Regions from separate parts of the Homo sapiens genome. Here all the other regions are linked to region 4. The links are contacts of gene promoters, found by promoter capture Hi-C in blood cells and fetal thymus (Javierre and others, 2016). All regions are on one chromosome and are shown on one strand. The core of a region is centred on a gene start or on the middle of the fragment in contact, and the rest is flanking DNA. Distances in the headings are between cores, read along the strand shown.

The links. The method cuts DNA at HindIII sites, captures the fragments that hold promoters and counts their contacts. A CHiCAGO score of 5 or more calls a contact.
Region 1: the fragment with the promoter of SEMA4D here is called in contact with the fragment with the promoter of AUH in region 4 in 2 of 17 cell types (neutrophils and total CD8 T cells); the score reaches 9.1 in neutrophils.
Region 2: a contact is called between a fragment that was not itself captured here and the fragment with the promoter of AUH in region 4, in 1 of 17 cell types (naive CD8 T cells). The highest score is 5.3, in naive CD8 T cells.
Region 3: a contact is called between a fragment that was not itself captured here and the fragment with the promoter of AUH in region 4, in 1 of 17 cell types (neutrophils). The highest score is 8.2, in neutrophils.
Region 5: a contact is called between a fragment that was not itself captured here and the fragment with the promoter of AUH in region 4, in 1 of 17 cell types (neutrophils). The highest score is 5.3, in neutrophils.

The regions. Positions count from the first base shown.
Region 1 is chr9:89,496,748-89,501,722 of GRCh38, reverse strand. SEMA4D (semaphorin 4D) reads left to right here and starts at 3,610. Exons shown (of 16, transcript NM_001371194.2): 1 at 3,610-3,804. RefSeq lists silencers at 3,521-3,710, 4,141-4,290. The HindIII fragment of the contact is 2,547 bases long and covers 3,191-4,975 here.
Region 2 is chr9:89,397,816-89,402,726 of GRCh38, reverse strand. It overlaps SEMA4D (semaphorin 4D), which reads left to right. Exons shown (of 16, transcript NM_001371194.2): 5 at 3,389-3,451. Among named protein-coding and RNA genes, the nearest start is that of SECISBP2, 82 kb to the right of the region's middle. The HindIII fragment of the contact is 8,794 bases long and covers 1-4,911 here.
Region 3 is chr9:89,595,429-89,600,018 of GRCh38, reverse strand. It overlaps LOC105376139 (a long non-coding RNA gene), which reads left to right. Exons shown (of 2, transcript XR_930105.3): 2 at 1-1,223. Among named protein-coding and RNA genes, the nearest start is that of GADD45G, 7.3 kb to the left of the region's middle. The HindIII fragment of the contact is 9,165 bases long and covers 1-4,590 here.
Region 4 is chr9:91,360,419-91,365,567 of GRCh38, reverse strand. AUH (AU RNA binding methylglutaconyl-CoA hydratase) reads left to right here and starts at 3,650. Exons shown (of 10, transcript NM_001698.3): 1 at 3,650-3,940. The coding sequence starts at 3,679. RefSeq lists silencers at 535-735, 3,480-3,919. The HindIII fragment of the contact is 2,357 bases long and covers 2,940-5,149 here.
Region 5 is chr9:89,662,886-89,668,086 of GRCh38, reverse strand. LINC03062 (long intergenic non-protein coding RNA 3062) reads right to left here. Exons shown (of 6, transcript NR_024280.1): 2 at 2,705-3,159. Among named protein-coding and RNA genes, the nearest start is that of LINC03062, 26 kb to the right of the region's middle. RefSeq lists an enhancer at 4,703-5,201. The HindIII fragment of the contact is 5,920 bases long and covers 877-5,201 here.

The DNA of each region.
Region 1 (4,975 bases), core at 2,361-4,860, 1.9 Mb after region 4:
AGTGGAGGTGTGGCTCACCCACGTCTCTGCAGAGTGTGGTCACATTCAAAGGACATCTCCCCGGACTTTTCTAGAAGCTGCTGGCAGGTCCCAGAGCCAACCTTCCCACAGTCCCTCAGAGGACCCCGTTTCTCCACTTGCTGTGCTGACTCTCTCTCTAAGCTTAGCCTGGACACTCTGCATGCCACTACAGGTGAGAGGCGGCAGGCCGACTCTTTCTGAAGACACCTCCTCCACTGCGTAAGGCTCCACACTGGGCGATCTGGAAACGGCTCCCAGCCCACTACGTGCCTGTTCCCTCCTGCACTGCAAAGTGGAAGCAGAGGATCCTCTCTCCTCATATCCACCTGGGCCGTGTTGGAAGCTGAGTATTATTTGTGCTGCCATACTTGAGTTTTTTTCTCATATGGGACTTAACTATTATCAATCCAGTTACTATGCTCATATGCATATAGATGGTGTCAACATTCTGGCTGGGAAATGCAGAGAAACTTTGCAAAGCATGGTCTCAGTATCCAAACACTTGGCATTTCTGGGGAAACTAGGAAATAGATTGGTTAATATGATCTTTGATATGCTTGAACTTAATATTGGAGGGGAAAGTAAGGGGGTGAGAGGTAAGGCAAGATTGGAGTTCATTTAGCTACTTTTATTTTTATTTTTTGAGACTGAGTTTTGCTCTGTCGCCCAAGCTGGAGTGCAGTGGTATATGATCTTGGCTCACTGCAACCTCCGCCTCCCGGGTTCAAGTGATTCTCCTGCCTCAGCCTCCTGAGTAGCTGGGATTACAGGTTTGTGCCACCATGCCCACCTAATTTTTGTATTTTTAGTAGAGACGGGGTTTCACCATGTTGGCAAGGCTGGTCTCGAACTCCTGACCTCAGGTGATCCGCCTGCCTCAGCCTCCCAAAGTGTTGGGATTACAGGCGTGAGCCACTGCACCCAGCCTGCTACTTTTATATCTATGTTTGAAATGTCCCACGACAGAGTGTGAAACAAGAATAAAAAGGCAAGCTTGGTCACTTTGGGAGACATAGGCAATCATGCTGAGAGAAGGGAACAGGGAAGAAGGTCAGAGAGGAGGGAAGAGGAAGACCTAATAATGGCATCCAAGTCCCGGTTCTAATGGTACTTGGGGCATCTTTGGATGCAAGTGAGCCAATAGTATGGGCTGAAGTTCTATCACTTACAACTAAGAGTCCTGTCTCCTTCATGAATGCAATAAACATGTTTGGGGGCAATTTTATATAAGCACGGTGCAAAGAAGCCCTTGTGTTCGCAGCCTGGGCATTGCGGAAAGCTTTTTGGAGTTTTTACTGAATTCTCTCATGTTCTTCTGTATGCATTAGGAAACAGGCTAGAGAGGACAGTATTCTGGAAGGTCATGATGCCAGAAGTGTGGGCCCCAGGACAGCCATGCAAAGTCTCTTCTTTGCCCTGGGCTGCCCTCTATTAGATTCTGAGCATGTGGGTCTAAAAGCCAGGAGAGAATTCAGCAGTTGTTGAGAAGCATACCCCTCTGCTGCTGGTCCCCTCCCTGCAGTGTGTTCCCAAGGTGGCCCCAGGCCTGTCTAGACGCTGGCTGTGAAGGGCACGCTCCTGTAGGGGCAGCCGGCTCTTCCACAGTGAGGTCTGTCAGAAAGCGCCCACGATAGGCAGGAATCCACTTTCTCATCTAATTTCCACCCATCTGTCCTCATTCTGCCCTTCATAACACCACAGAGTAATCCTTCTTCCCGGGACAGTTTTGCACATATTGGGGTTCTTCTGTCTTGTGCTCCACACATTGATTTTCTAGGCTGAAGACTCCCGGTGGGTCAACTCCCCTCCCACGGGATACTGCTGGCTGCCTTAGACACCAAGCAAGGGCATGGTATTCTAGATGTGTCTGACTAGTGAGGAATAAAAGAGAGTCCCCCCACCCCACCCCAATCAGTGCAATGCTTGCATGTGTAGATCCTAAGCGTGCATCCCTCCTTGGGTATAGAATGCTGTTAAACCAGTTCTGTCCTAATCCGTTCCCATTATGTTTCAATCCAAATGGGATGTGGAACATGGATTCATGGACCCCTACAATTGGAAAAGAGCTTGGAAAAGACTTCTCTAGTTTTTCCTGTAATAGTCACCAGCACTGAACCCGAGCACACGGTGCAGTGGGCTTTACCTGCCATTCTCTCTCCGTGCTCCCCAAACCCTCCAGGACGACCACACTGTCCTCATGTTGCAGGGTACAGAGGTTTGCTGAGGCCTGAGGTTATTTGGAAACTGCAGAGCTGTGAGTCAAGGGAGTCTATCAGATTCCAGGTCTGGATTCTTCAGCAAGAGGGTGGTGGCTGCCATGCCGTAGAGGGAGGAGGGGGTGCGTGCTCCACCCCACCCTGCTTGACACCAGCTTTGCCATCTTAGCCTTTGCTGGGCCGAAGCCCTATTCTCAGAGCTCCGGCACTGAACCACAGAAACCACAGGAGGCCCTAGAACGGAACTCTGAGACTGTTGGGCCTTTAACTCTGTGACTGTTGGGCCTGGGACTGGCTTCATTTGTAAACTCTGGCTCTCAGAGCCAGTGCTCAGCAGGAAAACAGCCTCAGGGCCCCTGCCCCTCAACAGCAGTCTGTAGTCCAGGGAGGTATCACCTGGCCTGGAGAGGGGCTCCCCAACTCCTCACATTTAGGGGAAATCTTAGCTGGTTCCGTAAGAAACTGTGTCCCCTTCTCAGGACTGTGTTCCTCAATAGGCCTCCCAGCCTGGCCAGTCACTGTGCGAGCCCTGTCACCTCTCCTGGGGGCAGAGGGAAGAGGTCTGGATGGAGCAGCACCATCTCTGAGGGCCCCCAGATCCCCAAACCCATGGGCTAGTCACAAACAAGTCTCACCAGCAGCCTCACAGGAGGACCATTTGCCATACAGAGTGGAAAATGATGAACGTTTGGCAAAAGGCTAGCACGGGGGTTCAGGGAAACCAAGACTCCAGGTGGTGCCAGCCCCTCCCCTGGGGAATGGGAGCAGCCTGGTGTGAAATATTCTTGCCCAAAGTCAGCAGCCAAGTGTTCTGGGTGCCACGTGCCTCACGCACACTGCAGGTCAGGTTCTCAGAAGAGCTGGCCCAGGGTCTGGGGGTGAAAAAAAACTGGGGGATTTGGGGGAGGCCTGGAAAGGGTGGGGTTCATCCAGGACCCCAGAAGGGGCAAGCTTGTCTATTGAGAGCTGGTGAGGAAGAGGGTGACAGGGCACCTCTTGGTCCTGGGAACGGGTGCTTGACTCAGCAGAGACCAACCCAGGGCTGAGGGACAACCCTCTGGGCCTGGCGGGGAGGCAAGAGAGATGGGAGGTGAGGAGGAAGGAGTGGGGAGCAAAAGTGGGGAGAAGGGGAGAGAGGTGGAAGAGTGTTGCGAAGGTGAAGAAAGAGGAGGAAAAAGAGAAGGGAGGAAAAGAAAGGTTGGGGGAGGGAAAGGAGGGAGGTGAGCAGGGGCGAGGAGGAGGGAGGAGGAAGGAGGAAGAAAGGGGCGGGGCCATAGGAGGGAAGAGAAGAAGGGGGAGAGGAAGGGGAAGGGAAAGGGGAGGAGGCGGGAAGGGAGGGGGAGCGGAGGAGGGGCCTGCGCGCCCGCCCCGCGCACTCCGTCCCCGCGCCGGCCTCAGCGCTCTCGCGCGCCGCAGCATCCCAGCCGCCGCTGCCGCCGCCGGGCCTCCCCGCCACCCCCTCCCCGGCCCGGCCGCCTCCCGCCGCTGCCGCCGCCGCCGCCGCCGCCATTCCTGGCGCCCGAACTCGCCCGGCCGGGAGCCGCCGCGGGCAGGACGCGCGCTGCAGGTAAGCGGCCGGGCTGGCGCGGGAGGGAGGGCGCGCGGGGCCGGGCAGGTGCGCTGGGGGCGGCCTGGACCCTCCGCGGAGCCCCCACTCCACACCCCTAGGCTCCTCACCGGACCCTCGGGGCCCTCCCCGAACCCCTGCAGGAGCCTCCTTCTGGGATCCCCGGACCCCTGGACTCCTTCCTGGATCCCCCCGGGGCCCCTCCTGGGACGCCTCCCAGAGACACCTACCCGGACCCCTCCGACCCCCTGGACCTCTCTGCTATCCCTCCCCGGCCTTCTCCCCTTCCCGGTTGCCTCCCCAGTCCCTGCGCGCAGGTGGCTCCTCTGGGCGCGGGGGAGCGGGGGCGCGCTGCATACCCGGGCCAGGGAGGGGGCGGTGCGCTCGGCCAGGCCCCGTCGCGCCCCGGCCCGCCCAGTCCGGCCCCGCCAGGTCAGGCCCCACTCCGGCCAGCCGGGCTCTGGCCGGGCCCCCGCGGGCTTCTATTTTGGTCGCGGAGGCCGCGGACCCTGTGCACTGGACCCGGCGCCGCGCACTCAGACAGGTGGGGCAGGTTGGGCCGCAGTGGTCAGGTCGCCGCCTTGGCAGTGAGTGCTGCAGGCCTCGGTTTCCTTTCGGGTTTTGGTTGCATTATTCTAGAACAGCCCAGGAGAACCACAAGCCTTAGCTTGGGCTGCACCTGTTGCAGCCGCCTAGTGAGCTGCAAGGGGCTGGCTCTACTGGGGTTATGCCAGTAAAAACGTGTAAAGGAGAGTTGAACTCGTGGTTGTCCTCTATTTTCTGGCTTAGTATTTTGGGGGGTAGGTGGGAGAGTGGGTGAATGGGAGTCTGTAAGTGGGCAGTTTGCGTCAAATGAGGCCTGGTGTCGAGGGCTGGGTCCTGCTTTCCGGAAGGTTTTCCACATGAAGTTGCTTTGCTTTTGTTTTGAAAACCTCACTCTGTGTTGAGCACATCCCAGGCTCGTGGGTGGCCAGGCCCCCGAAGGCCAAGCTGGACGTGGGGCCTGGGGCCAAGCATCTCACCCTGCTGTTCTGAGTCTTTTCAAATCCACCAGGCGCCACGGAACGGAAGTTTCCTTTCCTGGGGGTGACGTGACACCAGTGGCCTGTCACCTCATATGTGTCCTAGGCCTGGGGCCTGCCTGCTGGCTGCCCAGGCGAGGTTATTTGGG
Region 2 (4,911 bases), core at 1,541-4,040, 2.0 Mb after region 4:
CAGCAGTTCACCCGGGGACCACCCTCTTTGCTTTTTTTTTTTTTGAACTTTTTATTATGAAAAAATCTCAAACATACCTATGAGCAGAGACAGCTATGCCATGAGCCCTGTGCCCACTGCAGCTTATGCAAGGCCGGGTGTTCAGTCTTGCCTACAGTACCCTCCACCTCCTGGGGCATTGAGGCAGATCCCGACACCACATTCTTCATCTGGGTATCTCTTACTGGAAAGGGCCCCTTGTCGTGCAAATAATCAAAAATAGCTTCTCCAAAATTTATATCATCATACATTCAGCCAGTGTTCATATTTCACCGACTCTTGTGGATGATGCTTGTTTAGTTGGTTCAAACGTTTAGTTTGAATCAGGTTGCAACCACGCTGTCCCAATCCATTGCAGCTGGTCACCCTGTCCATTCAGTCTCCGCTTCTAGGAGCCAGCCTCGGTTTCCTTCCTGAGAAAGCTACTCTGCACAGCCCATCCCATGTCCCACTCTTCACATTGCTCCTGATTCCTCGGTGTCTTTAAACATTTTAAAAAATCAAACCGAATTTAAAATTTGATTGTAGCTCACTGCAGCCTCAAACTCCTGGGCTCAAGTGATCCTCTTGCCTCAGCCTCCTGAGTAGCTGGGACTGTAAGTATGTGCCACCACACCCAGCCCCACTCATGGTGTCTTTAGCATGCACCTCTGTCTTCACATCCCCAGCTGGGTGTCAGATCCAGGCTCATCCCTCTCAGGGCTGTGAGGCGGGCTTCTCCATGGAGGCAGGTGTTCCTCCTCCTCAGTCTCGGTGGCCTTTGACCAGCGAAGTCTAGATGCTCTTCTCATCAAAGATTGCAAAACGCAATGTTCTGATTCTACCTCTCCTTCTCTACTTGTTAGCTGGAAATCGTATAAAAGGGGAAGTGCCCATCACCAGCTATTTTGGTCCGTAGAGGTCCCATTTCCTTTGGGAAATGCAGAATCGATGCTTGGAATCTTTGCCTTTATTTACCAGTTTTCAGAATAATGAGTTAATGAGTCAGTTTCCCCTCTGAAGGGCAAGAGTGAGTTTTTTGATTGATTTTTAGTGTCACAATGAAGTCATAGATTTAAAGATATTTGCTCTTCTTTGACCCATCACAGTGAAACACCTACCTCATGCTCAAATCGTCGCATCCATGGTCAACAGCAGCCTGTTTGGGTTGGCTCCTGAGACCTCGCGGTGTGGGGTTAGTTTTCTTGCTCTCTGGAATCTGTTCCAGGTTCACGCTGGACATTTTCTGCCCAGATCTCTTTTTGTTTTCATCTCCAGGGTCTAGCTTATTTCTCAATTTCTGTTTGACACATAAATGAGCTCTGAGCATTATGCTCTGAAAACAAGTATTTGGCTGGGTGCTGTGGCTCACGCATGTTATCCTAACACTGTGGGAGGTCGAGGTAGGCGGATTACTTGAGCTCAAGAGTTTGAGACCAGCCTGGGCAACATGGCGAAACCCTTTCTCTACAAAAACTGCAAAAAATAGCCAGGTGTGGTGGCTCAGGTCTTGGGAGTCTGAGGTGCTTGGAAGTCTGAAGTGGGAGGATCACTTGAGCCCAGGAGGTCGAGGCTGCAGTGAGCTGAGATCATGCCACTGCAGTCCAGCCTGGGCAACAGAGCGAGACCCTGTCTCAAAAAAACAAAAACAAAGTATTCAGCACTGTGAGGCACTCTGAGCAGAAAGATGTGGTGGTCTCACCTCACTCAGCTCTTACTCTTCGCGTGTCTGTTAAATTCTCTTCCTCTGAGCGCCTTCCTGACCACACAGGCTCACACTCGGTCTTGGGGGAATTGTGGACAGTGTGTTTGTGCTGGCCCCACAGGTGTTCAGTGAGAGCCAGACATTGCTCTGTTAATGACACCATGGTGGTCCCTCGGGGTTGGGGAGAGGCTTGGGGACCTCTTATACTTAAAAGAAAAAAATAAAGAGACCCCCGCCAAGCATCAGTGAAAATCCCTGCAAACGTGATCAAGAGTCTGTTGAAGTGTACGTTCCCTTGTCCTTATGCATTTCATGCGAGTTGACGAAATCATCTGTACTTTAAATGCTGAAGGAAGTGGCTATTTTAAATGAGACTCTGTTCCGCTTTTGTGTGCCCCTATCAGGACTTCCATTTCTATGAAATGACACTCCCTTAGTACTGTGTCTGCAGCCTGGGTGCTGTTCAGGAACTCACAGAGTTAGTTAGAAACCTAAAGTGGGGTTCCTCTCCTCATACTCTCCCTCCTAGAAGCCCTGTGTGCTTCCTAACCTCTGAGTCCTGACACCTGCTACAAGCCTTTTGGTGGAGAAAAATACATTGTTACTGGTTTCTTTTGCATCAGTTATGGAACATCACAGAGAGAGGGGGCATTTTGGGGAAGGTGAGGCAGAGATAGATATAGAAACCTTCCCTTTTGTCTTATGTTGCTTTCTATTCTGTGGGGGCTTTGGAGGGCAAGGGGCTAAGGCCCCCACCCCCTGGAAGTTTCTGATCACGAATTGTCCCTGGTTTGAAAGAAGAGGTGGTAGGAACATGGATCTTACTAAGATGGTGCCTGAGCTGAGCTGGTGGTGTTAGTTCATCACTTCCTCCTGCTGCCAACATGCAAGTTTAAGGAATCGTAAATCTCCCTTTCTACTGATACAGTGAATATTGTGGCTTTTTTTTTTAAACTGGACTGTAGAGTCACTTTTTTTTTTTTTTTTTTTTTTTTTTGAGACGGAGTCTTACTCTGTTGCCCAGGCACACGAGGCTGGAGTGCAGTGGTGCGATCTCGGCTTACTGCAACCTTCGCCTCCCGGGTTCAAGAGATTCTCCTGCCTCAGCCTCTCGAGTAGCTGGGATTACAGGCGCCCGCCACCACTCCCAGATAATTTTTGTATTTTTAGTAAAGATGGAGTTTCACCATGTTGGCCAGGCTGGTCTGGAACTCCTGACCTCAGGTGATCCGCCTGCCTCAGCCTCCCAAAGTGCTGGGATCACAGGTGTGAGCCACTGCGCCCGGCCTGTAGAGTCACTTTGAATGGATGGAAAAAAGCCCACTTTGATGTTTGAAAATACTTATGGTTTAGGTTTTTGAAAAATAATTTAATTTTCTCCACTTTCACGAGTTTGATTTTTGCTGCTGTTTTATGGTGAGTGATGGAACTTTTGGAGCTGGTCTTCCAGACTCCACTGGTTTCAGGATAAGGATCACAGTGAGGATGTTCATGAAGGCCCCAGGCTGCTCCCCTGCTCTCTGAACCTCCCTTGCAGTCTGAGAATTGATCATCTCAGGAGAAACCTCTAGGCTCTAAACTCTATCATGTGCTTTTAAAATTGTGCATTTTTATACTAGTATCTCTTTAAAAGAATATGCACTGATATGGACTCTATCCCAACAGGTGTATTGGAAGGTCTCAGAAGACAAAAAAGCAAAATGTGCAGAAAAGGGGAAATCAAAACAGGTAAATTTCTTTTGCAAGCTACAAAGAATCCCATTCAAGTATTTCTTGGTTGTTTTAATCTACTGAATGCCAGCATGCCTGCAGTGCAGGCCAGCCTTTTCTCCAGGCTCTGTTCATTCTGCTGGGCTTGGTTTTGTTGTGATGCGTCTTGGAGCTCATCCCTCTATTCCTGAGTATCAGGATTGGGTTTCTCAAAGCAGGTGCCAAACATATTTGGCCTTTGAGAAATACTTTTTTAAAGTTTATATGAATTGAATGTATTCAGATGGCCTGAAACTTTGACTACAGAACACTGGTGAATAGTGAAGCCCACTGGTGAATAGTGCAGAAATTCAGGGTTTGTTCTGCCTCCTTGCACCCAGAGGCCTTAGGCTTGGAGGAGTTGCTAGTCATGCAGTTTTTCTCAACCCCTTCGTTGGACTTGCGACAGAGATGCCCCATTTATTCGGCCTGCTGTGCTCAACCTCTTGCAGGAGGGAGCACATGAGTGAGCAAGTGTGGGATCTGGCCAGCTGTTTTGGGTGCCAGCAGGAGCAGGCTTTGTGTGAGCCCTGAGGGTGGCACCCAGGTTGGGGTGCCTGTGACCCCCGCAGCCCCAGAGGGTGCGTTACAGTGCTCTCTTATCTCTGTTCTCCATGGACAGTGGTGTGTTATAAGCTCAGTGGGCCCCTTTTCTCATTGTGTGGGACAGCTGTCCTCTGCCAGTGAGGGCAAAGGGCCAGTATGACAGCCTTTTTTGGGTACACACACTCAGGGTCCTGAGCTCTTGTCCGGCATCCAAGAAGAATGAGGTTGCATGGACACTTAAAGGATGGTGGAGTCAGAGAATTTTGTTTAGTGTTGGAAGTGGCTCTCAGCGGAGATGGGAGCTTGAGAGGGAACAGGACGAGCAAATAATCTTCCCTGAAGTCTGGCCAGCTCTGGCCGGCTCTTCTCCAAAGTTAAGCCATTTCTCCAAAATCCAGCCATCCCTCTGAAGTCAAGTCACCTCTCTCTAGTCCAGCACCTTCTCTTCTCTATCAACTGAGTCTGGGCTCTTATAGGCACAGGATGAGGGCAGGGTGGGCTGTGGGTAGTTTCGGAAAAGGCAACATCTGATTGTAAAAAGATGTTCAGAAAGAACCAATCGGGAGACGGCGGGCAAACAGGGATAGAAGTTCTCACTCTGGGCTGCGGGTTTTAGGCTTTTTGGCTCACATGTGGGGTTTTGCCAGGGACCTGCCCCTGTCTGCCTAGACTTTCTCTGGCTCCTTTCTCTATCACTGGGACTTTTGGATTCTTGGCACACGTCCGTCCCTTTGGTCCCTCAGGCCCCTCAGTGTGGTACTCATTCAGGGAGCCCTGGGCCGAATACTCATTCCCGTCTGCAGCTCTAGGTTACCCTCATCACCCTCTGAGCCATCATGTCCCTACCTGGCACTGGGCATTCTTCCTCAATGGTGGTCAAGACAAGCTGAGTT
Region 3 (4,590 bases), core at 1,677-4,176, 1.8 Mb after region 4:
TTTTCTAACAGATTTCTGGAAATGTTTACATGTAGCATATAATAGAATAATAGAACCACAGAACTTCCACAGTAAAGCCTTCCTTCTTTTATGTTCCAAAAGCTAAAATGTACTAACAACCTCCAAAAGGCACTATGACATTGGAGTTTAAACTTTGTGGAGCAGGACTCAAAGCTGGACTTAGCTGCTTGCTAACTTTGACCTTGAGTGAAGAGTTAGCAGATGATTTAAAGTGTAAAGTAGAAAGAATTCATGCTGGTTAGCCCATTAAATACCCGTTAATTAAGCTCTCCAAAAACGCCATTCAAAAATGTATATGATAATCAAATATTTATTGCAATGTTTCTTAAAATAGTGAAAAATTAGAAAACATTATAGGGGGCTAGTGTTAAATCATGGTGTAACCAGAAATGAAACATTATGCAACCATAAAAAGGAGTTCTGAAGAGTAGTTCCCGGCATGATATAATGTGAAAAAAAGCAAAATACGAAATTGTGCAATTCTAATTTTGCAAAAACTTTCAGCGTACACGACTATCACTGTATAAAGTCACAAAGTAGGAATGGTGATTGTATCTTGGAGTGATGAGATTATAAGTGATTTTTAATTTTCTTCACTATGCTTTACTGCAATTAAACATTTACAATTCAATTTTATTTAACAAAAATATATAAAACTTCTCAAATGGAGTAACTTCAGTACCAGACATCCTCAACCTGACTGCTCTGGAGGTTATTGTGCAGAGCAATCTTTGACCATATGGTCACAGATCCAGAAGCCAGACGTCTGTGGGGCTTTGCTCCTGAGACTGTGACCTTTGATTCCTGCACTCCTCCTCTTGCCATCTGACGCCGGTCTGCGCCTGTGACTGAGTGAAAATCGTCATAACTGTACTCGGAGGTTAACTCTGGCATGACTGGGATGGAATCCCAGGCAACATGCTGGAGGCAGGAAAGAAGGCCAGCCGGCAAGTCAGAACCAAACACCCTGGACGGCACCTTTCCTTACAAATGCGGTTCACAGGACCCTTGGGGATCCTCTGCGCACACTGAGGCAAGCAGCAATGGAAGAAATTATCTTCCACTCCCTTCTTGTTGAAAATGTCTGTTTTCCAGAAATGAATTACAGTAATAGATTATGAAAATTGTTTCCATTGCCTACATAACACAGCAGGGAATTCTAAAATTTCAAAACATGTAATATACTCAACCTGTGCTTGAGACTGTAGGGTATTATTTAATTTTTCAGTGTTTGAATTTTGTCTGTTTGAGAAGGGTGTGGCACTCCTTGAGTACACTATTAGTAGTATTGTTGTTATTTTATTTACTAGACTTTTCCAGGACTTGCTGTGCACCAAGCACTGTTCCAAGCACTTTGAAAACATTGTTTAATTCTCATAACAAACTCGTTATGTAGGTGCTATTATCACCATTTTAGGCATGAGGAATCTTGGGCACAGAGAGGTTGAACAACTTGCTCAAGGTCACACAGCCAGGAGGTGGCAAAGCTGGGTGTTCTGAGCTCCTCTCTGAAGCAAGAGGGAACAGATGAATTTCACTGTGAAACCATTTCTCGAGCCTTTAGAACAAACCATTTGACCACCAAGGACAAGGAGAGCATCCAGGTGAAAATGAGGTTTCAAAACCATTTTTGGTTCTCCTCAGGAACCCTGAATCCAACAGTGCCTGTCCCAATGTCATGGTTGCAGGGTGACATCTTGCGGTCAAAGAGAATATCGCTTCCAGCCCTAAAAAGTAGCTTCTAACACCTCAGCTGGCCTAAACCCTTCCAGGCCTGCAAGTGCTGCCCTGTAAGCGTGTTTCTGGTGAGCCCATGGGCTCTCATCACACATTAAGGTTAATATCCAGATGCAGCAGACCCTGGTAACAGTGGGCTCAGACCCCACTGTGCCACAGCTGGGCAGCCCCCGAGAAGTCAGGCCGGCTCAGAGGATGGTGCAGTAGGGTTTGGTAGTCACAGAGCAGTGTGAACCACCATCAACAAGGAAAAGAGACCCCACCATCAGGGAGCGTTCCTGTGTCAGCTGTAATACCCATGCCCACTTCACAGATAGGAGTACTCAGTTTCAGGGAGTTTAACGACATGCCCAAGGTCACACAGCCAATGGTGGAGCTGGGATTCTAGCCAGCATGTGCCAGGCCTCCAGCCTCAGGTTCATTGGGCCACACCACAGGCAGAACATTGGCTTACAGCTAAACAGCTACCCTGGGGCACAGCCTACTGTGCAACTCAGCTGTACTTGGGAGGATCAGTCAGGGTGTATACCCTGCTTTTCTTACAAAATCAGGAATTCTCTGAATCACCCATGGTCTTCAGTTCTGAATTCCCCTCATCAGCCACACAATGTGAAGTATATAGGTTATTTTTTCTTACTCACAAACCCACAGGCAAATTTAAACTTGGGAGGGACCTGCAAGGTAACTTCCTCCAAAACTCTGCCTAATTTACCAATCTCTTCAGCAACACCCGACATGAACAGCCTGCCACGGGTGAAATCCCATATGCGGCATGACATCCACCCCAGGGAAGGTGAGTCCCACTTGCTGGTGCATTTCCCATGCACCCAACACCTCCCAGCGTTGCCCTCTCAAAAGGAACAGGAGTCACAGCTCCTTCATCTCCAAAGCACGCAGGTGCACCCTGAAGATGCCCATAGACCTCTGCTGCCCAGTGCATCCAGGGCCAGCAGCCTCAGCTTCCCCTGGGAGCTAATTAGCCTCACAGAATCAGAATCTGCCTTTTAACAAGAGCCCAGGGTAATGCATGCATGCATGCACATAAGTGTGTGGTCATTCATTCGCCAAAAGGTGCAAGGTATAGGGTGGATGGGAGGCGCTGTTTCAGAATCTAAGGGGCAGGATGGTGTGAGGCCCCCACAGGAAGCCGCTGTCAGGCAAGGGCAGATGTGAGAAATATAGACTAGTTGCAGAACCTTGAGGCTTATCACGGTCATGGCCACTCTTCAGATTACCTCTGAATCTGAGAACCGGTGAGGGGGCAGACTGCTCACGAGCCCTCGGGTCTGCTCTCTGATGATCCACAGTAATGGCGTTTTGACTTTGCACAGGGACTCCCAGCCAGAGACTGCATTCCCAGTCTCCCTTGCTGCATGGGGTGGTCTTGGGCCCCAGTTCCTCTACATTCCTTGCTCAAACAGAAGTTTGTAGCTGGCCAACTAGCTTCCTTCTCCTCCTTGCTGTTGTGACTCAATTATGCAGTCACAAGGGAAGGGGTCTGGGGTCCTGCATGGCTGTGTGGAGCCGAGCCTCCTTGCTAGCCTGTACACTCCACACTGTTGTGTTCAGTAGACAAGACACAATCTTCTGTCTTAAGCCTCTGTATTTTGGAGGTATTTTTAAATTTTTTAATTTTGATAAAGTTTCAAACATAGGAAAATTATAGAAATAGTAAAACAAAGTATTCCCATGTACCTTTCACCCAGATTCCCCCATTTTACTATATTTGTTTCAGCTTTGTCTCTCTCCTTCAAGTATATATATTATTTTCCGAACCAGTTGAGGGTAAGATACAGACATGTTGCCTCTTTTCCATTAAATGCTTCAATGTGTATTGCCTAAAAACAAGAATATTATCCTAAATCTATCAACTGTAGTAAAATGATGAAATTCAGGAAATTAATATTGATATAATTACCTAATCTACAAACCATACTGAGATTTTTGTCAGTTGTTTCAGTGATGTCCTCTGTAGCAAAAGAAAGTCCAGGATCACAGGTCCATTCAGTAGTCACATCTCTGTCATCTCCCTGAATCCAAAACCATTCCTGAGTTTTGCTTTGTGACAGTAACATTTCATGGCATTGATATCTTTTTAATATTTCAGGCCTGTTATGTTACAGACTCCTCTCCACCTCCACCCCGCACACTGCTGGGGTTTGGCTAGCTTATCTGCTGTTTCCTCCTGATTCAATTCAGGTGATAAACCATTAACTGGACCATCACAGTGGTGATGCTGTGTCCTTCTTGGTGTGTCATATCAGGATCATGTGCTTTGATTTGTCTTCTGGTTCTTGATTGTCATGGGGTGTCCTCTGGTTATTGATTGCCATGGGATGATGATCATTTGACCAAGATGGTGTCTGCCAGGTTTCTCCAGCCTAAAGTCGCTATTCTGCCCTTTGGAATCAGTGAGTGTGTTTTGCAGGAGGATGTCGGAGGTCATCAGAGCAGGGTGTCTGTGGTCACTAGTGTATGTGCTCAGTTAGCACTGGAGAAAACTCAGCAGCAAACCCAGGCTCTTTCGCTTATCAGGAGCTGTTGAGCATATATATTCACATCCTTCCCTGATATTTTGAATAGATGGGAAATGTTTACTAGTTCCCCTGAATCCACATTAAACCGTAATATTAATTTTTTAAAAAACAGCCCAGAAGAGAACCTGGATGGTGCATTTCCATTTTACTGAAGAGTCTACTGTAAGAAATAGTTCATGGCCGAGAGGACAGTGGGCTGCTCTATTCACTCTCGGTTTCCATGACAGATGACCCAGCTCAGGGTGGTTGAACCAGACGGCTCCACCCAGCCTTCCCCTTGTCTTCTCAGGCTGGA
Region 4 (5,149 bases), core at 2,401-4,900:
GCATGACTATTGCAAATAAGGACGAGAGTCCCAAATGTTAGGGAAGGGGATAGTCCTCTATGTTGCATTTTTTCCATCAGGCTCTATGCCTTTAGAAACAATGGGTGGTCCTTTGTTTTCTTCTATAACCCAAACAATCTATGATTATCTTTCTGCAGCTGTCCTAGTCAATTATCAGTATTATCTGAAGTTATATTATTTTAAATAGCACTGTCAGGAGCTCTGTATAACTGCTTTCTCTAAATTTACCATCTATTGATGAACCGACATAAAGATATCAAAACAACTGGAGACCAATATTAATAAACAGTAATTATATAATTGCAATAATTGCAATGGTTGATCTGTAAATACAATTGTGAGTTTCCTAGTGTTACGGAACCTTTGAGGTGTCGATTTCCTGGCCAGAAACCTCTGTGGCTGGTGGCACCTTTGCCAGAGTTCTTGTCCTGGGTCCAGGAAGAATGAGGTATGCAGACAAGTGGAGGGTGAACAAGACAAAGAGAAGCTTTATTGAGCATTAAAACAGCTCGGAGGAGACCCGCAGTGGGTAGCTCCTCTCTGTAGGCAGGGTGTCCTGAAGTCTGCCCAGCTCCTAGGAGAGAGGAGGCCCTGGAGAGGGTAGCTCCTCTCTGCAGCTGGTTGTCCTAACATCTGCCCAGCTCCTAGCAGAGAGGAGGCCCTGGAGAGGGTCACTCCTCTCTGAAGCTGGTAGTTCTGACATCTCTGCAAGTCTCTGAAGCTCTCAGCTGAGAGGGTAGCTCCTCTCTGCAGCTGGTTGTCCCATCATCTGCTCAGCTCTGGCTGAGTTGGGGATTTTATGGGCCTCAGAGGGGAGCAAGTGCCTGCCGCTGATTGGTCCATGGGCAGCCATGGGCAGGCTCGGAAAAGGCACCACAAGTTCCCACTCTGGTTCATGGGGCTGGCAGCCCAACCCCCAGCCTTCAGGCCCTCCTTGGCCAGAAGCTGGGGCCTCACTGGGGACCCACCCCCTTCTGCCCAGGAGTCTGTCTGCCTCCCACTGCCATTCATGGTGCCTGGGTTCAGCCTCAACTTTGCTCCAAGAATGGAGCAGGTGCCAACAGCAGGGAGAAGCCAGGCAGCAGGAGCAGGCATTTCTGAGCCTGTGAGGGCATGCAGGGCCTTCCTGGGCCCCCAAGAGTGCAGGGATGCCTGGGGCTGCAGCCGTGGTTTGGGTGGCTACAGCTGCCCTCGGGGAGGGCAGGGCTCCTGCCTGCTCCTGGCCCCCTAAGAGCACAGGGAGGCTCAGATCTGCAGCCACACCTTGGGTGGTGCTTCTGCCTGCTCTGTGGAGCAGGAGGCCCCAGTCTGCAGCTGTGCTGCAGAGGCAACCAGGGAGTTCCCACCCCAACTCAGAAGGGGTGGGTCTCCCGCTTGTCCCTGGCTCCCGCCAGAGAGCGTGCAGCCCTGGCCATGCCTCCCTGCTGCAGCAGTAGGCCGTCTGGAGCAGCCGCTGCCATCTCTAGTACAGTAATTCTCATAATTTTATTTTGCCTTGGTATCCATTTTGAATATGTTTAACTTTCTCATATGAGAAGCAGGGCTCAATCACCTTTGATACAGTTTCCAGTTCTCTGCTTCCTCCCAGTTCTTCAATGTGATCCATCCAGATATCTGCTTAATGCAACTGCTTCCTGGTGACCATCTCCCTATGGGACAGGTAAATGCAGCCTGCTTGACTCACCTGTTGACCTCCATAACCCACATGGACTGTGTAGATGGGCTCCAGTGACCACCTCACAGTGACAGGGTGACTCCATGGAACTTGTGCCTGCTTGTTCTAAACTCACCAATTAGAACTTCCATGGGAAACTGCTTGGGTAACACGCTGGACCCCAACAGAGGCTTTAGCTCCACAAGTGCCCCTTCCTTGACCCCCTTCCACTGGCTGAACTCCCTGTCACCTCCAGATTTACCCTCCCTCTGGTGACCACAAGACCAAATTAGAAAGAAACCATAACAATAAAAATCACAACACCCAGCAGTCAACATGTACATCATTATCAGAAAAGAGGAAAGATACAAAGGAAGCAAAGTTTTCCTTGTAGTAAACTTCAGGAAAATTTTCCTGCATGGAACTTTACAAAAGATAGAATAAAAAGTGGGCTGTGCATGGTGGCTCACACCTGTAATCCCAGCATTCTGGGAGGTCAAGTTGGGTGGATCACTTGATGTCAGGTGTTCAAGACCAGCCTGGCCAACATAGAAACACCCATCTCTACTAAAAATACAAAAATTACCCAGGTGTGGTGGTGTGTGCCTGTGATCCCAGCTACTCAGGAGGCTGAGGTGGGAGGATCATTTGAGCCTGAGATGCAGAGGTTGCAGCGAGAGGCGATCACACCACTGCACTCCAGCCTGGCCGACAGAGCCAGAACCTGTCAAAAAATAAAAAATAAAAATAAAAATAAAAGTGCCTTCAACATCATTTTACAGCAGATGCAGTAATGGAATTCAGTCTACTTTTTGTTTCTACATTGGATAAAAGTTGAGGACATAATGAAGGATGTTTTGCTTAGGACTAAAAAATACAAGAAATTTCTGTGGCACTAGACGTATGCTCATAGCAGCACACTTTTCAAACAGTATTCTTTTTTTTTTTTTTTTTTTTTTTTGAGACAGAGTTTCACTCTTGTTGCCTGGACTGGAGTGCAATGGTGCAGTCTCAGCTCAGGGCAACCTCCGCCTCCCGGGTTCAAGCAATTCTCCTGTCTCAGCCTCCCGAGTAGCTGGGATTACAGGCGTGTGCCGCCACACCTGGCTAATTTTGTATTTTTAGTAGAGACAGGGTTTCACCACGTTGGCCCGGCTGGTCTCAAACTCCTGACCTCAGGTGATCCACCTGCCTCGGCCTCCCAAAGTGCTTGGATTACAGGCGTGAGCCACCGCCCCCTGCCCAGTATTCTTAAATGCAAGCTTTCCCATTAGAGATCTGATAAAAGCTAGGTAGCATTAATTATACTGCAACGTGCTTTGATGAGTACCTACACACTAAATTGATATCCCGAGTTTCTGGAAGAGCTACATACTCTAAATCCCATCTCAGCGTATGGCTTGTTTGAACCCCTGTAAGACTCTTTCCGTCCAGGAAGGGCCATGGGACATCGGTACGAGTGGGTGGGCTGGAGAAAGAACTCCTTTGCCTGTTTGCTGTTCTCATCCTTTTCCTGAACGCCACGTAGTAAACATCATTTATGCTTATCAGGGACGCTAAACCAACAACCTGAGATCCATAAGTAAGGCAGTGACCAACGATGGGCTGCCACACTTTCAGCCAACTTGAGGAGACAAAACTTTTTTGTTCACTTTTGCAGCTTACTTAACACAGGACCGCAGGGCATGGTCCAGGGAGTACGGGGAGATAATTCCCTCCGGGTGGTTCTTATAGAAAAGTCTTCCCTGAATTATTCCATAACCTTGGAAAACTACTTTCTTTCCTTTTGTATTGGACAAACCATCCAATCTCGCTTGGAGAATGGGGCAAGGCCTCGGGTCACCGGGCTTCGGCGGGGCAGTGAGGGGCGGGAACACGGCTCCGGAGGGCGGGGCCAAGCCGGAGCGAGGCGGCGGGTCCGGACGCCGTGCGCGTGCGCGCGGCAGGTCGGCGCCGGGCGGGGGCGGAGCGGCCGTCGCAGGTCCACGCCGTAAACAGACAACATGGCGGCCGCGGTGGCGGCGGCACCTGGGGCCTTGGGATCCCTGCATGCTGGCGGCGCCCGCCTGGTGGCCGCTTGCAGTGCGTGGCTCTGCCCGGGGTTGAGGCTGCCCGGCTCGTTGGCAGGCCGGCGAGCGGGCCCGGCGATCTGGGCCCAGGGCTGGGTACCTGCGGCCGGGGGTCCCGCCCCGAAAAGGGGCTACAGCTCTGAGATGAAGACGGAGGACGAGCTGCGGGTGCGGCACCTGGAGGAGGAGAACCGAGGTGAGGTGCGAACGCTGGGCAGGCGCGGGGCAGCGGGCGGCCGCTCGCTCTCAGGACGGGCATAAGGTGCAGCGTCCGCCGGCAGGACGCGGGGTCGAGGTCAGGCAGGCGCACCGAACCTGGGTCCCTCCCCTTTCTCACCTCCCTACTCACCCAGCGTGGCCGCTTCCTTGTGCACCTATTTCTTGCTTTTAATAACCTAAACGTGTACCCCCGAGCAGCTTACCTGTAAAGTGACCGCATTCAGCGCGGCAAACAGAAGTGCAGCTTACGCCCTCCGCTCCAGACAAGCCAAGGTCAATATATACCCTGGGGATTTAATCCTTGCTACCAGGCTTTATTGTTGCTGTGTAATGGCTTTCTGTAAACTCAGCTATTAGTGGTGGAGTTGTAAAAGCTGCGGTGAAACTGCCTTTTATTATTACGGAGAATCTTAAATTTGAAGCTGCTCAGCTGGAACAATTTTTCCTCTTGTTCATTTTCTCTTAGAAAGTTAGTCTTGAGGGACTGTTCCACTTCATTTAAACAATTTTGAGCACTTTTTATTTTCCTCAGCTCTGGCGATAAGAATGTGGATGGTATGGATCTTGCCCTTGAGCTACCTTCTACGGGAGGAGACATCATTAGCAATACAATACAGAGCTTTGAAGGCTTTGAAGGAGGCTGACAATCCTAGGGAATACTGTTACAGCTCAGTTCCTTTCACTGGCAGTGCAGGGAAAAGCTAAAAGGGTCGTGAAGGGTGGAATAGCAGTTTCCACCCTTAACCTCCGGGTTAAGCCAGAGGACCAGTGTTTTAATTTTGACATGCATTTGTTGAGCACCTATAATCTGTTAAGCAGAAGTGAAAAGCGTGTAAGTCGTGATTGGTTTTAGTGTAGTGAAGCAGATCCTGGTTATTAGTAGGCTGTGTGAACTTTCAAGGCATGGTAAGAGGAAAGGGCTGTAATACCTGCAGGGTTTCGCCATTTGAAAGGGGTTCCAAGGCATTCTTTAATAGGCAGTGGATTTTGCCATTTGTGAGGGTTCTTGGGCAGACTTATCTCACGTGTAAAACAGGAAAAACAATACCAACTTTATAGGTTTGTTATGAAGATGAGATGAGATTGTTAATGTAAATTGCCACTAGCACGTAGCAGTGCTTCAGGAGTGTGATGAATGACTTTATTCCTTACTTATTATTCCAGACAGAGACAAGAACATGGTCAA
Region 5 (5,201 bases), core at 2,587-5,086, 1.7 Mb after region 4:
GGAATCGATCCCAATCTTGGGATCCACAGGCCTCCTGGCTGCCTGCTGGGCAGTGGCAGCCCTCCTTCCTCTCTTCCCATCTGACCTTCTTATCTCCTGTGTCAACACACATTTCCCAGTACTACTGAATGTCCTGAAAGCAAACACTCAGCCACCTCCGGGAACTGGCTGGGTGTGATGCTCTGAAGGGAGCAGGTGCCTCAGCCACGACAGACTCAGCAACAAACCGCCAGGCAAGTTTGACAGGGGGAGAGACACAGCCAGGGCTCGCTGCTCTGGGGGATCCGGCCCAGCCCCTGCAGAGCAAAGCAGCAAGGGCATGGCGAGCCTCAGTCAGACCATCTTTCCAAAGGCAGGGGCTCTGTGGAGGGAGGCTGGGCTCTAGGGCCATTCCATCAGCAACTTGTATATGAATGCTAGAATCAAACAGCCCCTTTGATCATGAATAATTTTAACATTCGCTGTACTGTCCTGAAATGAAACTTCTGGTTAATATAATGTGTCTATAAGTGATAGATAGATGATGTTACAGATGGATAGATAGATGATAGAGAAATAAAGATGATATAGATAGATTAGATAGATGATAGATGGTATAACAGATAGATGATAGATAAATAGATAGATCATATATGTAATGCTTTAATGGTAATACAAAGAAAACTGACATAGATATAATACACAATAACATCTATTCTGATAGTAAATGTTTAGGCACAACTACCCTAGATGACAAATCAAGTCCTCAGATGCGTGCATTCAGGTAAAATTAAGGTAAAATTTCTGAGGATTCCGCCAGACAGTGGACCTTGCTTTGGTAATTCCAGCATTCGCTAGGGCTGTTTTCTGAAATTAGGAACAAAGCTTGGCAAAGCTTGGAGCAAAGCAAAGTCTGGATCCTCCCTTAGTCTATGCCATAGCTGCAGTGTTGGGAAATCCAGTGTCTATCACAGCCATGAGAGAAGTGGGTGGTATTGACAGAACACAGGCATGGGACCAGACCAGATCCCCAGACACAGATCTGCCACCCAAATGAGAAGCCAAGGGAGTGACACTAGCCACAGTGCCGTCTGTCTGTGTGGGGCTTTCTCTGCTTCGCAGAACCTTGAGCGTCCTCAGCCCTGGACCACAAAGCCAGTAGTCCCTATGGTAACTGTTTCCACCAAAAAATGCCCCCACAAATTTCCAGCATGCCCCTTTGAGACCCACTCCCACGGTGAGCGCTGACGCAGGCAACAGAACCCAGCCCTGCAGTGAGGGTAAGTGGGGGCCAGCCCTTTGCCACCGCCCATGCCCAGCCATGATTCCTAAACTCCATCCTCAGCACAGGCATAGAGTCTTTGGTGGCCCCTCCGGGTCCCCTTTGTCAGCCCCTGGACTGTGTGGCCAAACCTGTGCAGAAGCACAAAACCCAGGCCATGCACAAAAAAAGGTCAGCCCTGTTCTGAGTGCCTGGGGATCCAAGCAGGCAACTGGTTAGCTCTGCCTCTGACACGCCAGCCTCCCACAGCCAGCAGCGTGGGCCCCAGGCCAGCTCAAAAGCACTGGAGAGTCCCTCACATGTTGGCCGAAACCTGTAAATTACCCATCAACCCTGCATCCACGTGTTTTGGATTCTAAAGAGTTGCACTTGGATGACCGGGTTCTGAAGCAGGAGGCCTCCTCTCCCGCCAGTGGCCCCAGCCCTGCTCCCTGCACATTGCACCTTTTTTCCTCATTTCTCGCCCACTTTGCTTAGTACTGAACATCTTTGTTCTAGAGGCCCCTTGACTTCCAGAATATGAGTATGCAAATGGGATACTGTGCCCCTGCCCTGTCGGTAATCAACCAACCCACTCTTGCTCCTCTCTTCAGATGTTCCTCTAAGTCCCACAGAGAAGACCACAGTTGTGTAAGACGGTTAGGTAAAGCTATGGGGCCAATGATCTTGTGGACAACCAAAGTCAGCACCTTTGCAAACCAGGATTCATAACTAAATATGCTGGCATTTCTGGCTTTATTCAAACCACTTCCAAACTAAGATCAGCACATAGACAGAATATCACATTCTGGACATAAACGTGGGTCTCCTTCCAAACATGAAACAAGCTAATGAACCAGCGAAAGCCCCAATCTTTGACTGGCTCACGAACTCAGTATTTAAAACAGTAACACTAGGCTTTTGTGGGAACTATTGATGCACATTTAAGTCTTTTAATAAGGGTAAGTAAGAAGAACTCATTCTACAAATGACTCTGGGGATGTTTTTTGGGCTAGTACTCAAGCACACGGCCAGAGCTTGCTAACTCGATGCCCAAATCTGGTGTCTGCTGACAGCTATCCTCAATAGTGAGCAAATTTCTTGGGATCTGGTTTTCTCAGTCTTTAAATGAGGCCAGGTGCAGTGGTGCACGCCTGTAATCCCAGCACTTTGGGAGGCTAAGGGAGGCAGATCACTTGAGCTCAGGTGTTCGAGACCAGCCATGGGCAACATGGAGAAACCCCATCTCTACCAAAAATGCAATTAGCTGCTCATGGTGGTGTGCACCTGTGGTCCCAGCTACTCAGGAGGCTAAGGTGGAAGGATCACTTGAGCCCCTGGAGGCGGAGGTTGCAGTAAGCCGAGATGGTGCCACTGCACTCCAGCCTGGGTGACAGAGCAAGACCCTGTCTCAAAAATAAATAAATAAATAAATGAGGCTAGGAATGGTGCGGACATACCCACCCAAGAGAGATGAGGATGGTGATGGTGAGGGGCCAGGTGACGTGACAGCAGGAGTCTCCAGAGCTGCCGGGAGCCCCTCGGGCTGGGAGGCACCATGGGTACAGCAGCCCAGATGCTGCCGCAGGGCCACTCCAGTGTGCTGTGCTGGGCAGGGCCCTCCCAGGTCTCTGCAGCAGGGAGGAAGCGAGGTGTTACTGGGCCAGCTCTGTTCTCCTGAGCCGGACTGGCTCCCGTCATCTGGACCTAAAGTGGCCAAACAGGTTTTCCAGGTGGCAGCTGAGCTTCTGCAGCATCCGGAACACTTTGTTCCTAGTAGTGTCCCAGAGGGCTGTGTTCACAAGCCAGGTTCAACGTGCGATGGGAGCCTGAAAGGGAGGGCGTATCCTTCATGTGTCCCCAAGCGTGACCCAGAGCACTCCAGAGAAGAAAGTCATCCTCTGTCCGGTTAAACGGGGCTGTGTTTTTAGAGCAAAGGACAGAGGGAAAGGTCAGAGTCTCTCTCATTCGTGCCCTTCTCAGGAGGATCTGAGCTCCCACCAGAGAAGAGGCCTAGAAAGGTGACACATCTCTAGCAGGGCCCCAGAAAATTACATTTTGGAGAAAAGAATGCCTTACCTCATTCTTTGCTTAATTGTCTATGGTAGTGGTTCCAAATCTGGGGAGGTATTTTTATACAGATTCCCAGGCTCCAACCCAACTAGAATCTCTGCAAGGGGAACCCAGGAATCCATAATTCTGATGTTACAGGTGTAAAGGACTAACATTCAGGTGCTGTGACCCACACTCCCAAGATTTCTGGGATACTCACTCCCCAGAGTTGAGATGATAAAGCCTGAGGCATTTCTAAAAATATCAGTCAACTGGTTGAATTTCATTTCTGGTCATGACCACTAAAATTCAACTGAGTCCCAGAGAAAAATTCAGAGATAGTGCATTTTTCATTGTTTTCTTGCCAGAAACCTTGGCTCCGTATTCCTATGCCATCCATTACCATTAGCTGTGTGCTCGCCTGCCAGGGCTGGCCCTGCATTCAGGGAGCTCACACACCCTCCAGCTCTGGACTTCCATACCTGGCTGGGGCACCTATAGCCAATAAGCCACTCACATTGGTAAACCTGGTTTAACTCAACTCTCCTGGTTTCTGTGTTTCAAAATCAGAAATCAGCCAAATGTCACTCCCCACCTGGACCGCCAGCTCTGGAGGAAGGGCTGTCAGGTCTGGGTGTCTGCAGCTCAGCTCGGCACCCGAGGGTGCAAGGAAGAAGCCAGTGGGTACATGAAGGACAGCTTGTTTCTCTTTCTTACTGCTGGCTCTCAGCCAATGTCAGAGGATTATCATAGCCCCTACTGCCTCTCCTCTTCTAGACCCCCACTCCCTCTCCTCTTCTCCAAGCTGCCATTCCTGAAATCTGCTTTCATCTGCCTTCCTTCTTGAATAAGGGAGAAAGGAACTAATAGCAGTTGAATTTTACTGTGCCCGGTGCTTTCATTCTATGTTATCTCTGAAAGCATCCCATTTCTCAAGCAGCCTTTTGTAATATTATCCCGATGAGAAAGTAAGGCCCAGAGAAGTTAAGGACTTTTCACAAGGTCACACAGCTGGTAGCAGAGCGAGCATTCAGGCTCCAGCCTGCATAAGGCAAAGTTGGCCCTTGAGCAAAGTTCCTTGGAATTCAGAGGAAATGCTCCTGTTTCAGAAATTGTCATCTCTACAGGGCCAGGTGCCACAAGGTAGAAGAACAGCCCAGTGCCCATCAAGGCCCACACACAGAGCCCAGGGCAGGAAACCCACACAGGAGAGCCACAGTACCCACAGAAACCACTCCCATCAGCCCTGCAGGACCCTGAAGACACCTGGCCACTGCTCTTCCCTCCAGGCCCGCCTGGGAAGGCAGTGGGATAGAACATACAGGGAGAAAGGAGTGCTGTTGGGGATCCCTGGGACTTCCCCAAGGTGCCCAGATGGCCCACAGAAGCACCAGGAGAGTGAGTCACAGCAATTGCTGGTGACCAGCAAGGAGACAGTGAGGATTTCGGAGCCCAGTTCTGGGGATTCTTGGGCCCATTTTCTTTGTGCACAGTCTGGGGGAGGTGGAGAGGTCAGTTCCTCTTAGATCCTTTCGAAAGTCTCCTCAAGAACCCCATCCCAGTATTGTTCCTCTTCCCATCCCCCACTCCTAACACCCCAGGTGACACCTCAGGGGGACGTTTGTGCTTGGACTTGTAGTCCTAGTCCAAGCAATGACCTCCCACTGAGCGTCTCAAGCATCAACCGCAGCACTGAAAGTGTGTGCTTTGCCGCACAGGGACAGAACCCTGGAGTCCTGCTGTCACTACTTGGTCAGCTGAAGAACGGTGTGGGAGCACGGAGCAGGAAGCAACTCCGGCAGCCTCCATGCAGAAACTGCGCTGTGAGCTCTGCCAGCAGAAGCAAGACAAAGAGGAGGGCCTGGCTGACCCGGTCACAATGCAGCCCACCGGACACCTTGCTTAACTG